Regions from separate parts of the Homo sapiens genome. Here region 2 is linked to region 1. The links are contacts of gene promoters, found by promoter capture Hi-C in blood cells and fetal thymus (Javierre and others, 2016). All regions are on one chromosome and are shown on one strand. Each heading gives the region's core, a stretch centred on a gene start or on the middle of the fragment in contact. The rest is flanking DNA. Distances are from core to core; before and after follow the strand shown.

Region 1 (7,109 bases), core at 2,521-5,020:
CCTCCTGCCTTGGCCTCTGAAAATGCTGGGATTACAGGCATGAGCCACTGCATCCAGCCAGATAGTGGGAATTTTATATCCTCCCCCTTCACACCTTCTGGGGGGCTAAGAAGTCGGAGTTTGATATTACTGAGAATTCCAAAATAATTCACTCCTAAAACATTTCATCATACAAACACCAGAGGGCAAGAAAAATACAATTTACCACATGCATTCTAGGTACCAATCCACATATATTGCCTCATTTAAGGCCCATGACATCCCTGTAAATTAGATGTATCATCCCCAATTTAGAAAGGAGGAAACTCTAAGGCTTAAGATTTAAATAACTTGCCCCAAATTATAGAGCAGAATAAGGATTTTCCAACTTTAAAGCTAAAACTCTGGCCAGTTACGCCATGATGCTTCGCTTACAAGGATCAGACCTTGACCTATTTCTTGCAGGCTGTTGGCTTCTGTATTATCTAAAATTATTTTTCACATATCTGAGAAATGCTCTTATTTCTCTTACTTTACAAAATTGAATTCTTAATTCTATAATTAAGGATATTCAGGACATTCAATGAAGGGTAATTGTGAAATGGACAGGAGACCTTGAATTGTACATGCTGGAGATATAAAGCTTTAGAACTAATAGGAAAATAGATGTCTGAGGTTCTTGATTTTCCATTTGTTTTCCACTGTTTCTAAACTAAACCACTGTTTACAAAGAATGTGTCAGTGAAAGATGCAGTAAAAGATGCTTCTTTTCCTTTATTTTTAGACTCAAGTAAATATTTGTTAACAATATGGTTGATATGGTTTGGATCTGTGTCCCTGCCCAAATCTCATGTTGAATGGTAATCCCCAGTGTTAGAGGTGGGACCTGGTGGGAGGTGACTGGATCATGAGGCAGTTTCTTATGAATGCTTTAGCACCATTCCCTGATGCTGTCCTCATGAGAGTGAGTGAGTTCTCATGAGATGTGTTTGTTTAAAAGTGTATAGCACCTCCCCATTCATTTTCTTCCTCCTGCCTACTTCCCCTTCACTTTCTGCTATGATTGTAAGTTTCCTGAGGCCTCCCCAGAAACTGATCCCACCATGCTTCCTGTACAGCCTGCAGAACCATGAGCCAATTAAACATTTTTTCTTTATAAATTACCCAGTCTCAGGTTCTTTACAGCAATGCAAGAACAGACTAATACAATGGTTTACAAAGTAAGTTGACGAAGCTGAAAAATAAGTTCAAGAAGTCCTATGAAATAATTAAGATGAGTAAGATTGCAAAGACATAATTCATTACAGTGAAGATTCTCATGGCCAATTCATTCTTGGTTATGGCTTCCAACTTCTACTTTAACAGACAAATGCATTCACTTACCCATAGGTTCAACCAACCGTCTGTCCAACACATACTTAGTAAATAGAGACACACTACATGCTAGGTACTGTTCTAGGTGCTGAGATAAAGCAGAATGAAGGTTTTGAGGTTGTAATAATCTAATAAACAAATGAAAAAAGCAAGTTGATTTCAGATGCTGATAGGTGTTGTGAATGAAATATACTGAAAGGATATAGCATTTATAGTAGAAAGGCTATCTGAAATAGGGTAATTAGGGAAGATCTTTCTTAACAGAGGGCATTGGAGTTGAGACCTGAATGAGAAAGAGCTAGCTCTTTCCAAAGCAGAAAAAAGAACTCCCAGGCATGGAAAGTTCTAACAATTCAAAGGTACAAGATCAAAAAGAAGGCAGATGGCTGAGTCCAGAGTGGTGGTATGAGGCAAGGTCAGAAAGATGGATAGGATCCTGTACTACTAAAAGGAGCTTGATTGAAGGAGTCTGAATTATAATCTAAGTATAATGGAATCATTTCAGGTTCTAAGCAGGAGGTAATATGATTTGAGACAGCTTTAAAAACATTAATCCAGATGCTTGTTCAAGAATTACTTATAGGCTGGTTGCGGTGGCTCAAGCCTGTAATCCCAGCACTTTGGGAGGCCTAGGCAGGAAGACTGGCCCCAGGAGTTCGAGACGAGCCTGGGCAATATAGTGAGACCTCATCTCTACAAAAGTAAAAAAAATAAACAAATAAATTAATAAAATAATATAAAATTTGCCAGGTATAGTGGTGGGCACCCATAGTCCCAGCTACTCTGGAAGCTGAGGTGATGGAATCACTTGAGTCCATGAGGTTGCAGTGCGCCATGATTGCACCACCGCACTCCAGCCTGGGTGACAGAGTGAGATCCTGACTCAGAAAACAAAACAGCAACAACAACAACAATAGCAAAAACAGAAAAGAATTACTTATAAAGGGGCAAGAGTGGGAGGGGAGGGACTAGTTAGGGTGCAAATGCAGAGACTGAAGATAAAAAGACTCTAAAGACTCATAACAAATCTCTTTAATGGTTAAAGAGAGTTCATTGGGGGAAAGAAAGCTGAATTTATTTTAATAATGTCCCCATTTTCGGTAACATATATGCTACAAAGTCAATTATTTTATTGTTATTTGGTCACAGGTAGAGATAACGGTGTGGCTGTGGATTAGCAATTACATACACCTCCGTTGCACATTTAAAAAGGCATTTTGTTGTTGCTGCAAGAAACCACTATGCAGGGCTTTTGGTCCTCCCTAAAGGAGAGAAACGGTATCTAGGAAATTAATTCTTCTCTCAGGCCCAAATGCAAAATTGCAGAAACCACTTGCTAAATATGGTCAGCCATTTTTAAGAGTCCAGAGAGTCTTTTCTCAGGCGTACTTTATTAGAGGCCATTGATCAGTTTCTACCGATTATTATAGTTAATTGAAGGGAAATCTGCGACTATGGCTATTTATTGGCATTTGCGTTCGGCTCAGACAGAAGCTAGTTTTGAAAGTGGTATCCGTAGAGTTATCCCGCTTGCACACTTCCTTGCCTAGGGGTGGTGGGGGAGCGCTGAGGGCTTGCGGGGTGTCAGCCACCAGGGCTTTCTGCTCATCAGTCAGCATCGTCAGACATCCTGGAAGTGTTATGATGGCGCTGAATGTAGAAAAAGGGTTCTCAGGGCGGATATATTGTCGTCATTCCTGGTGGCAGAGGGGAGTGACAAGAGGCTCACACGTCGCTGGGTAGTAGCACGCATAATAAAGTGTGGTTTGCACCATGTGTGCCACAGATTTCTCGGGTTTTCTGGAAGGCTTTTCCAAGTTCCGCCTTCTCCCCTTTAAAGCCATCCTGGCCCCAGCTATGCATCGGCCTTTGACTCCATCTGTCCTTCCGCTGCGGACGGGAGTCCCTCTCGCCAAATGGAGAACACAAGTTTGGCACCCCAAAGTGATGATAACCTCTACCCTCTTGGCTCAGCGCGAGCCAAGAGTCAGGCCTGCAGAGGGACGGTCAAGCGGATGGAGGGGGAGGCCGCGGAGAGGCCGCTCCTCTCACCTCCCCGCACCCATCATCACTTGGCACTTGGCCAAGCCCAGGCAGACGCCCCGCCTGCGCGTCCCCCACCCGCCCCGCGGTGCACGTCTCCCAGTGCTTTTGCATTTGCTCCTCTTCCGCCCTGCTGCAGAGCGCGGCTCGCAGGTTGGAGTTTGCCCTCGTGTGCGCCGCATCACACGGCAGGGAGGGGAAGGCAGGCGGCGGAGGCTGGGTCGGAGCAGGAGTCGCGCGGTCCCTGGCGCCCGGAGACACAGTGGGGAACCACCGCCCCGCCCCCGGAGCAGCGGACAGGGCCGCAGACCTCCCTTCCCCCCTCCCTCTCTCCCTCCTCCCCAGCGCCCTGACTCCCTGCCTCCACGCCCTTACTCCACCCCCTACTCCGGCCAGATCCCCATCCTCTCCTTGTGTGTGCGCGCTTCATATAATCTCCTCCTTTTTGGCAAAAGAAATAATGCACCTGACTTTACCAGGGGGGAACAACCAGCCGAGTAGAACAAGGAACAGATGTAAAGGGAATAAAAGGAGAGAGAAAAAGAGATGAGATTCGTTTAAAGAAATCCAGGGGCAGAAGAGGTGGCTGCCGCGGCAGAGGCAGCTAGAGCTTACTTCCCTGTCTGCGTGAGCTGCAGGCAGAGGACGCTTTCACCAGTTGCAGATGTAACCTCGGGAATTCCTGGGCCGTCGGTTTGTTTGCCAAACAAAGTCTTTTCTTCTCTGGCTCAGACACTGAAGAGGCTCCTGGATTTTTCTGCGATCCTGCCACAAGCTGGCAGTTACCCGAGAGCCTTCCCAAGGAGCTGGAGGAGAAATGAGCCCTTGTGGGCGGAAGATGGGCGAAGGGCGTCAGCAGCGGCGGGCTCCGGTCGGGAAGCTCCTTCTGCTCCCCGGGAGGAGAGATACACCCCATGGGCGGTCAGGCAGCAGCGGCGCCAGGACGCAGCGCTCCCTGCTCTGGCTCTTGGTGCACGTGTGGCTGTGGGCGGCCTCGGGCTCCTCTGCCCAGTTGTTCAACCTCACCCTTTCCGTAGATGAGGGGCTTCCCCCGGACACGCTGGTAGGTGACATCCGCGCCGGGCTGCCGGCCGCGCAGCAGCAGGAGGGGAGCGGCTTCTTTCTGTCGGAGGACTCCGATGACTCCCCGCTGCTGGACGACTTCCACGTGCACCCGGACACCGGCATCATCCGCACTGCGCGGCGCCTGGACCGCGAGCGGCGGGACCACTACAGCTTCGTCGCCGCCACGCTGCTGGGCGCTGTGGTGCAGGTGGAGATTCGCGTCAACGACGTGAATGACCACTCGCCCCGCTTTCCCCTCGACTCCCTGCAACTCGACGTCTCCGAGCTCAGCCCGCCAGGGACCGCCTTCCGCCTGCCAGTTGCCCACGATCCGGACGCCGGACTGTTCAGCACTCAGGGCTACACCCTGGTGCAACCGTCCGACCTGCCCAAGGACCCCGCAGGCCCGTTCTTCCAGTTGCGCTACCGGACTCCGGGGCCACTACCGTCACCGCTTTTGCCAGGCTCCTCGTCACCCCTGGAGCCTCTAGATCTGGTGCTGCTGCGGCGCTTGGACCGAGAGGAGGCGGCGGCGCACCGGCTGCAGATCGAGGCATGGGACGGCGGCCGACCCCGGCGCACCGGCCTCCTGAGCGTGGAGCTGCGCGTGCTGGATGAGAACGACAACCCGCCGGTCTTTGAGCAGGACGAGTACCGCGCCGCGGTGCGCGAGGACGCCCAGCCGGGCGCCGAGGTCTGTCGCGTGCGCGCCACCGACCGCGACCTGGGGCCCAATGGCTTCGTGCGCTACAGCGTCCGCGCCCGGCAAGTGCCTGGGGCGGGTAGCGGCGGCGGGGCACTGGGCGACGCGGCCTACTTCGCGGTGGAGGAGCTGAGCGGCGTGGTGCGAGTGTGGAGACCTCTGGACCGCGAGGCACAGGCCTGGCACCAGTTGGTGGTGGAGGCCCGCGATGGAGGCGCCGAGCCTGAGGTTGCCACGGTGCGCGTGTCCATCGCCGTGCTGGACGTGAATGACAACCGGCCAGCAATTCACGTGCTCTTTCTCACAGAGGGAGGCGTCGCCCGTGTCTCTGAAGGCGCCCGACCGGGCGACTACGTGGCTCGCGTCTCGGTGTCTGACGCGGACGGTGACTGGGAGAAGGAAGATGAGGCCACAGGGGAGCTTGGTGTGGGTCTTGGAGACGGGAGCATCTCTCTGTCCTTGGAAGGCGGAGAGGGAGACTTCGCGTTGCTACCCGGCGGCCCCCCAGGGGTATTTTTCCTTTGCGTGGAGGGGCCCCTGGACAGAGAGAGCCGCGATCTGTATGAGTTACTACTGGTGGCCACGGACGCGGGGTCCCCGCCGCTGAGCACGGAGGAGACGCTGCTACTCCGGGTCGCTGACCTCAATGACCAACCACCTCTCTTCAGCCAACAGCATTACAAGGCCTCAGTGTCCGAGGCCGCGGCCCCTGGCACTGTAGTCATGTGGGTCAGCGCCTCCGATGCCGACGAGGCAGGCAGTGATCACGCCTGGCTGCGCTACACTGTAGTCCAACTCTCGGCTCCCTGCAATCTCGGCTCCCTGCAATCAAAGATGGTCCACACCGCAGAGTGTGGACCATCTTTTGCCATTGATTCCGAAAGCGGTGCGATCAGCACTATCCGGACTCTAGACCGAGAGGTCCAGGAGGCGGTGGAGCTGAAAGTGGTGGCCCAGGACCTCGGAGAGCCCCCACTCTCTGCCACCTGCCTGGTGAGCATCACCGTAGATGATGTGAATGACAATGAGCCCATCTTCTGGAGGCAGGTGTACAATGCCACCATTGCAGAGCATGCCCCGGTTGGACACTGCTTTCTGCAGGTGAGTGCATCAGGCCTGTGGGCCAACCTGAAGGCTTGGGAAGGGATGGAGAGGGTTGTGAGTTGGCCTAGGAAATTGTGATGTGGAGGATAATATTCCGGCTCTCAAATACAAGACTGGCGGTAGTGCCCCCTCTACAGTGAGATGAATGATGCCCTCTAGTCACCTAACTTTTTTTTGCCAGGGTCTTGGCTACATGATCTCTAAGGTCCTTTCAACTTGACTTTTAGATCTTGATTTATCTTATTGAAGCCTGATTTCTTTCCTGCTGGATGTATGCACCTAAATAGGTTCAGGAGGAACTGCCCATTCTAAATCAGACCTCTTCCAACTGACAATGTCTCACATCATATCATATAAATACATGTATACACACACACACACACACACACACACACACAGACACACACACACACATATATATATTTTTGTCAAACAGAGTGTCACTCTGTTGCCCAGGCTGGAGTGCAGTGGCTCAATCTCGGCTCACTGCAACCTCCTTTTCCCAGACTCAAGCAATTCTCCTGCCTGCCACCATACCTGGCTAATTTCTGTATTTTTTTAGTGGAGATGGGGTTTCACCATGTTTGCCAGGCTGGTCTCGAACTCCTGACCTCAGGTGATCTGCCCTCCTCAACTTCCCAAAGTGCTGGGATTACAGGGGTGAGCCACCACGCCCAGCAATGTCTCATATATTTTTTTAACAGCTTTATGAGGCAACCTAGGGAATAAGGTAGTTCTCGTAAGTGAGTTTTTAAAATGACCAAGTGTATATCTTTATACACTGACACTGTTTTGAGTTACCTTTTCCAGAGACTTCTTACATGTTTTCCTACCTTCCTTC
Region 2 (7,109 bases), core at 1,789-4,288, 690 kb after region 1:
GCAGATTTACATACTGGTGCCATCTCCTTGTGTCCCTCATGGACTGGCAACTAACTGCCAGCCAATGGAGTACACCGTGAGCAGCACTGACATGGAGCATTGTACAGGTGTGCTATGGTTTGAATGTGTGCCCCAAAGTCCACTTCTGGAAACTGTAATCCCCAATGCAATAGTGTTAAGAAGTGGGACCTTTAAGGGGTGATTAGGTCCTGAGGGTTCTGCTCTCATGAATAGATTAATGTTGCTATCGCAGGAATGGATTCATTATTGCAAGAGTGAGTTTTTTATCAAATGGAGTTCAGCCCTCTCTTGCTTGCTGTCTTCCCCTTTCTCCCTCTCTCACCCTCCACCTTGGGATGACACAGCAAGAAGACCCTTGCCAGATGCCACCATCTTGATACTGGACTTCCCAGCCTCCAGAACAATAAGGAATAAGCTTCTTTTCTTTATAAACTACCCAGTCTGTGGTATACTGTTATAGTGATACAAATGGACTAAGACAGGGTGGGTCCATTCATGATACAACCATTCCAGCTGGGCCTAGCCTAAGTGTGTCTCTGTGTGGGATCATGAGAGCTTGGAGGTTCCTATGCACTTCTCTGCTTTAAGTTTTGTCCTCCAAATAAATCCTATCTTACATTTACACTGCATAACAGTGGTGATGAGTGTTCATGTCCGCTTTGCGAGACAACATATTAATTTAGAATAATAAACATAATCGTTATAGTTGCTGGAATATATGGGTCTTCCACCAGTGCTTCACAGTATTTTTTGCATTGTGCCACTAATAGAAATGTTGATCTTTGAAAGATACACTGGAGTAAATTTGGCAGCTCCTCTTGGTGCCCAGTAGCCCCTCACCCTAAACAGCCACCTCAAAGACTAAAGGAATCGATATCTCAGCACATCTGCAAGATTTCTGTGGCTCACTGGAGTGTCCTGGTATGACTCCATCCAGAGCATCTCTTAGGGGCTGAATTGTGTCCTCTACCTCCCAAAATTTGTATATTGAAATCCCAACTCCCAGTACCTCAGAATGTAACCATGTTTGAAGATAAACTCTTTCAGGAGGTGATTAAATTAAAATTAGGTCATTGAGGTTGGGTCCTAATCCAATATGACTGGTGTGCTAATAAGAAGAGGGAGAGATACCAGGGATGTGCTTATACAGAGGAACAACCCTGTGATGAGGCAACAAGAGGCAGCCATCTGCAAGCCAAGGAGAAAGGACTCAGAGGAAACTAACCCTGCCAGCACTCTGATCTTGGACTTCTACCCTCAAGATTTGTGAGAAAATTAATTTCTGCTGTTTAAGCCACACTGTCTGTAGTTATTGTCTTATGGCAGCCTTAGCAAATTAATACAGTATCTTTCCCTAGATCAGGGTTGCTTGGTGAATGCAGGAGACAGTGAAGGGAGTTAGGTAATCTTGAGAATAGCTCAAGAGGGAGCTCCCCATCCCTGTGTGCGTCCAGGAGAAATTTGGATTCCCCATCAGGGACATAACACTGGGTGGAGAATAGACCAGCTGGCTTCCAACATTTAGATTCTATCATTTTTCTCTACAAACTTTGATTTCCTCACGGAAGAGAATTATCACTTCCATCATCAAATATACTCTCCTATCTAGAAATTAAAATGAAAACAAAAGCATATTTAAAGACTTTCACTTGACTCCCTCTGTCCCCTCCTTCCTTTGGCTCCTAAATTTCTCAAGCGCATGCTGTCTTACTGCTGCCATCATCTTTGCCCTACTTTTTGGACACAAATGTTTGAAATAGGCCTTAAAGCACAGATTGGCTCCTACCAAACGAGAGAAAAAGGACTGAGGACTGTCTTTCCAGGTAGGAAGGAAGGTGATGTCGCCCTGTCTCTACCGTCAGAGTCACGGAAAGGTGAGGTGGTCTTTCAAAAACTGCAGTTACCACAGGAAAACAGTATTCCAGAATTTTCCACCTGGCTTAAAGGTCTACAGATCCACTTCTAACTGTGTTCATTTTAAAGAATCACTCAGCTTAGAGAGCTGTGATCTCTGTGAAGTTATTAGCAAGTCTAACCAATTCTGTTGAGAGAAAAGAATAGCAAGAATAATGGCTATGGTTGGCTTCAGGGATGCTACATGGCTCTTGCACCTTTTACTCCTCTGCTTTATGAAGTTTGAGTTGTATTCATCCATCTTAAAGTAGATTAAGGCCTGAGGCCAGGCTTTCGGTTTTTTTGTGTTTGTTTGTTTGTTTTTAATGTACTTAAACCTGCTTGCTTCCTACCACAGATTCTTTATTTTCCCAAACAAAAAACTTTTAAACTTTGCCATTTCATCTGTTTACACTCTTTGCCACTGATTAGCAGTATTTAAATCTTGCAAGAATATTTTGTGCTTCCTTTAGAAACACAAGAGTATAGATTTTTCTCACTGAAAAGTGAGAGTTACGCATTGCAGCCATGAAGGGATGCTAGGATCAATTATGGCAGTACCTTTTTTCCCCTCCTGTTCTTGAGCCAGTTGCCTCTTTTGTTTTGGGTCCCACTTAGGATTAACGGATGTAAGGTATTTTTCCTGTGCCTTTATTTTGTGTCATTCTATTGGAAGGAGGTGTAACGGCAGAATAGCATAGTGTTAGGGGTTTTCTTTCAAACACTGCAAGTGGTATCGCCACCATGTGAACCTCAAATATGCAATCCAGTTGTGTTGGTTTCTCGGTGACTTAGAGTGTTCATCTCTTCATGAATTGTGAGCACTGACCATGTTCTTCAGTTCTTATTTATGGTGAGTTGACAAATACCAACTACTGCTTTTCTTCAGATGGCTATAAATTTCTTATTGTCAGGGGGAAATGACACTATATTCTGTTCCACTGAGCGTCTGAGATCAGCAGGCACTGTACTGGGTAGAGAAGTGCCTATACTTCTCTACCTAAGAGGGCAGGAGGGAAACCCTACAGCTCCTTGTGAGCCTATATATTAGTATATCGGCCTGGAGAGGACAAGGGAATAAGACCACTCATAGTGAGGCTGGCCAAACTGCACTGGTTGGACCAGGCAGTGGCTGACCTAAGGAAGACAACTTGCTTTGCTTAAAAGTAGATTTTTTAAGCAATGCTTAACACAGGCAGTATTAACTTCACCTTTCGTTCAGGCCATCAACATGTATTGTTAAAATTACTGCACATCCCCCTCAGATATCGAGTATACACTGTTCATGTTGGGGTGTGTGTGTGTGTGTGTGTGTGTATGTATGTACGCACGCATGTGTCCCAAATCTTGTTTTAATTTTTTTTTTCTGAATGTGATCATGTTTTGGGTGATACCTGAGCAAGGTTGCCTTTTTTTTATTACCATTGTATATTATATTATATTATATTATATTATATTATATTATATTATATTATATATTTTTTGCTTTCTTATAACTTTGGAGGAAAGTCAAATCTTGGTATTATTAAAATTGTTTTAAAAAGGAGTAAATTTTCCAGTTGATAAATGAAAATCAATGGTCTAGCTTTAAAATAATGAGTTTTTCTTTAATTACTGTGGAATAACGTGCCAGCTATCATCAACACAATGATTTTGTACATAGGGTAGGGAAGCAGTGATGCTCTCAATGGGAAGATGTGCAACACAAATTAAGGGGAACTCCATGTATTTTACCTGCTTCAGCAATGGAACTGCAACTTGGGGCTTTGTGAATAAAGTGTAGCTGCCTTGTATAGTCGTTTGAAAGAGAATATGTGATCTGTGAGAGAATTATAGTTGTTTTAGAAGAAAAATCTGCAAAAGATCTTTCCAAAGACAATGTGCCACAGATCTTTTGTTCTCTGTAATAAGGATTAATTGCCGTTTAAACAAAAATGTAATTGTTCATCTTTAAATTCTTTCCTTTTCATAAGAGGATCAAGCTGTAAAAAAACAAAATAATTAATAAAAATGTCGAGAAATCAAAAAAAAAGAATAATGGCTACGGCTAACACAACATTTCTGCTTTAGTCAATAAATTCTAATTCCTACTCTACCAACTCATTTTACAATCAGCTGCTGCTGAGAGAACTCATTATGTGATAAGGGTGTCCCTGCTCTTCTGTGCCAGGTTTTCCTTTGGTAAAAGTGTTAATAAGTAGTAAATGCCCCAAAATGTGAATAATATTTTGATTTTTAAAGTGGACACATATACTTAATGCCACTGAACTGTACACTTTAAAATGATTAAAATGGGGCCAGGCACAATGGCTTATGCCTGTAATCCCAGCACTTCGGAAGGCTGAGGCAAGCAGATCCCCTGAGCCCAGAAGTTTGAGGCTGCAGTGAGCTATGATCATGCCACTGCACTCCAGCCTGGGTGACAGAACAAGACCCTGTCTCTTTAAAAAATAAAAAATTTAAAAAAAATTTAAAAAGGTTAAAATGGTAAATTTTATGTTAACATACAGTGTATTTTACCACAATAAAAAAAAAGTAACACAAAGTCTGAATCACATTAAGAGAGCACCTGTAAGCATGCCAGCCTTCTAAGAGAGTAGGAAGGGGCATGGTTAATAAAACCGTGTCGGTCAGCAAAGTAGAGCAGGTAGGAATGGGAAGCTGAGAATTATATCATCTGCACCCAAAGCACAGAAGCCTCTTCTGATAACTTATCAAGTAAAGACTGTAAATGCCTTTATGCTAAGAATGATACTCAGTATGAACTTATCTGTAAAACACTAGTCATGTTGCCCTCGTGGATTTTACAAGGTTGCATCTTTTTGCTGATTAAATCATTTCTCTACAGGCACTATTTATCTACTGTTTCTGACTGAGAAGGTCAAGGCCTGGGGTGGAGGGCCAGACTCCAGATGTTGTGGCTCACACTGTCAGAACCAAATCACTCTTTCCACATAGATGGTCTCTCAACAACAGCACGTGATTGGAAAAGAGAATAGCTCCATCCCAGGAAAAGCCTTCTGTTCTGTGTTTGCCTTAAGTGTATGATGTTATGTTTAGCCCTCAGTGCAAAGTAGTAACAAACTTCATTGATTATACATTTGCTGTATGCAAAGCATACTACTCAGTCTTGGGGCTATGGCAGTACAAAAAAATATACTCCTACCATCACCAGGCTTAAAGTCTGGATGGGTTGACAAAACATGTTTCTAATTAGTAATGGTTAGCCTGAGGAGATTACCAGTGAAGATTAATTACAAGGGTTTTTCTTGGAGTGCCAAAACTGTTTCCCTCAGTTAATATTTCAACTACTTGTCATCTATTTTGCAATATAATTTTGATTTAAAATTCAAATTCCAACAACAGTAACAACATTTTTTAAATAATTAGATCTCTTTTTAATTTAGTGAGCCTGATTTTCTTTTGAACATGCAACAAAATGTGAGTCAGATTTGTTTTCCCTGCCTGGGATGATGCTGTGGAGTTCATTCCCAGCCCCATCCTTAACATCCTTCCCTGCCTGGGATGATACTGGGAGTTCATTCCCAGCCCCATCCTTAACATCCTTCCCTGCCTGGGATGATACTGGGAGTTCATTCCCAGCCCCATCCTTAACAGCAGAGCAGCACTCCAACTCTGCTAATGATTTGGGACTTTATTTATGACCTGGGTAAGTCTCCTAACACCGCATTACATCTGCACGATAAGTTCCCAGAGGAAGCTTCTGTGGGTGGAGTTGGCTACACTACTGTATACCTGATGAAATAAAAATAACACACACAGAAAACACTATGTACTTCTCCTAAGTGCTTTTTCTTTTTTAATCCTCGCTAGGTGCTATTATTAACCCCATTTTATGGATGAGGAAACTAAGGCATGAAGAGTTTACATGATTTGTTCAGGATCTCACAGCTGGAAAGTAGTGAAACCAGATTTGAACACAATTTGAGTTCTTCCTATCAGCCTGTCCCAGATATCAGCCTAAGGGACACTGATATGTCCCAGCACCAAATATATATCTGAAATTAAATCACAGGATTTGCTTTCTTTGGTTGTAACAATGCTGAAGAAGAGAATTTAAGAAAACATCTGCAATCCTCATTTCCCCCTCTCTGACGATAAGACTCTGACTGCCCTCCCCTGGGGAGTGTTGAAGCATGTTCTTCCTCTTTTTGCCATTCCTTGTTCCACAGAAAACAAGAGCAACAAAATATCTTGGAGGGTTCCTTTATCTTCCTTCCCTCAATCTATGGTATTTATCTAATCTCCTGGCAGTTTACATTTCATGAACATATTTTCATAGCTGGATCACCGCGAAATGCAAAAAGAAAATTTAATTCATGAGGACCAGTAATGCATGCTATACAAATATATCATAAATGTGTATCCCTAGCTACAGCCCCATCACATTTCAGTTGGCTCAAGGATTTTATTTGATTAAAGAAAGTTAATTCAGAAAGTACTTTTCTTTCTTAAAAGTGCTTTACTCCCCCAGGTTACATTTTTGTAAGCATTCTCTTTCTCAGATCTATAATATAAGAAGATTTTTAAAGCACATTTTCTGTGCTATGTCTTCTTGGTAATGCTTTGATTTCCTATAGTTGTTCCTATGGGAAACTCCTATAGGAGTTAATTAAAATTATCCATTAGAAATGTAGGAAAACTTTCATAGGACCATCAGCATAGGCATTCTAGTTCTAGGGAGTTACATTATATTTCTCTAGCTCTCCTAACAGTAGCCTATTTTTATTTCTTCATGTCAGTTGACATTGCTAGTTACAAATGCAGTGGAACTGGATCATAACCTATAGATTCTGCTCTGATAGAAACCAAAGCATAACTATAGAAAAAGTTTCATGTAATATTTCCCAATTGTCAGTCTGTTCACTAGCCCCAACTTTTCAGCACGTCAATCTATAAATCTCAACATTTATTCATCACTTGACAGGTACTGATCAATAGTGTCTTAAGCACTATTCAAAGCAATACATTTGAAATGTCAACATATATGTGGTAAGCATCAGTCCCTAATAGCCAGTTCTTCTCCACTTCTAGCCACTGGCAGGACTACATGTTCCACTCTTCTGAAGCTAGGGCTGGCCTTCTTGCTGATTTGGCTAATAGAATATGAGTGAAAGTGACGTGTCACTTCTGAAGGAAACTATTTAACTTCCAGTGATGGATTCACCAGCCTT

The links. Contacts are between HindIII fragments. The CHiCAGO score rates a contact against its expected background, and 5 or more counts as called.
Region 2: a fragment that was not itself captured here is called in contact with the fragment with the promoter of DCHS2 in region 1 in 1 of 17 cell types (endothelial precursors); the score reaches 6.2 in endothelial precursors.

Annotation. Positions count from the first base shown.
Region 1 is chr4:154,488,460-154,495,568 of GRCh38, reverse strand. DCHS2 (dachsous cadherin-related 2) reads left to right here and starts at 3,770. Exons shown (of 20, transcript NM_001358235.2): 1 at 3,770-6,265. The coding sequence starts at 4,214. RefSeq lists enhancers at 3,340-3,389, 4,192-4,371, 4,422-4,561, 4,030-4,985, 4,986-5,942. The HindIII fragment of the contact is 6,491 bases long and covers 625-7,109 here.
Region 2 is chr4:153,797,579-153,804,687 of GRCh38, reverse strand. No RefSeq gene overlaps it. Among named protein-coding and RNA genes, the nearest start is that of SFRP2, 12 kb to the right of the region's middle. RefSeq lists an enhancer at 69-238. The HindIII fragment of the contact is 5,199 bases long and covers 439-5,637 here.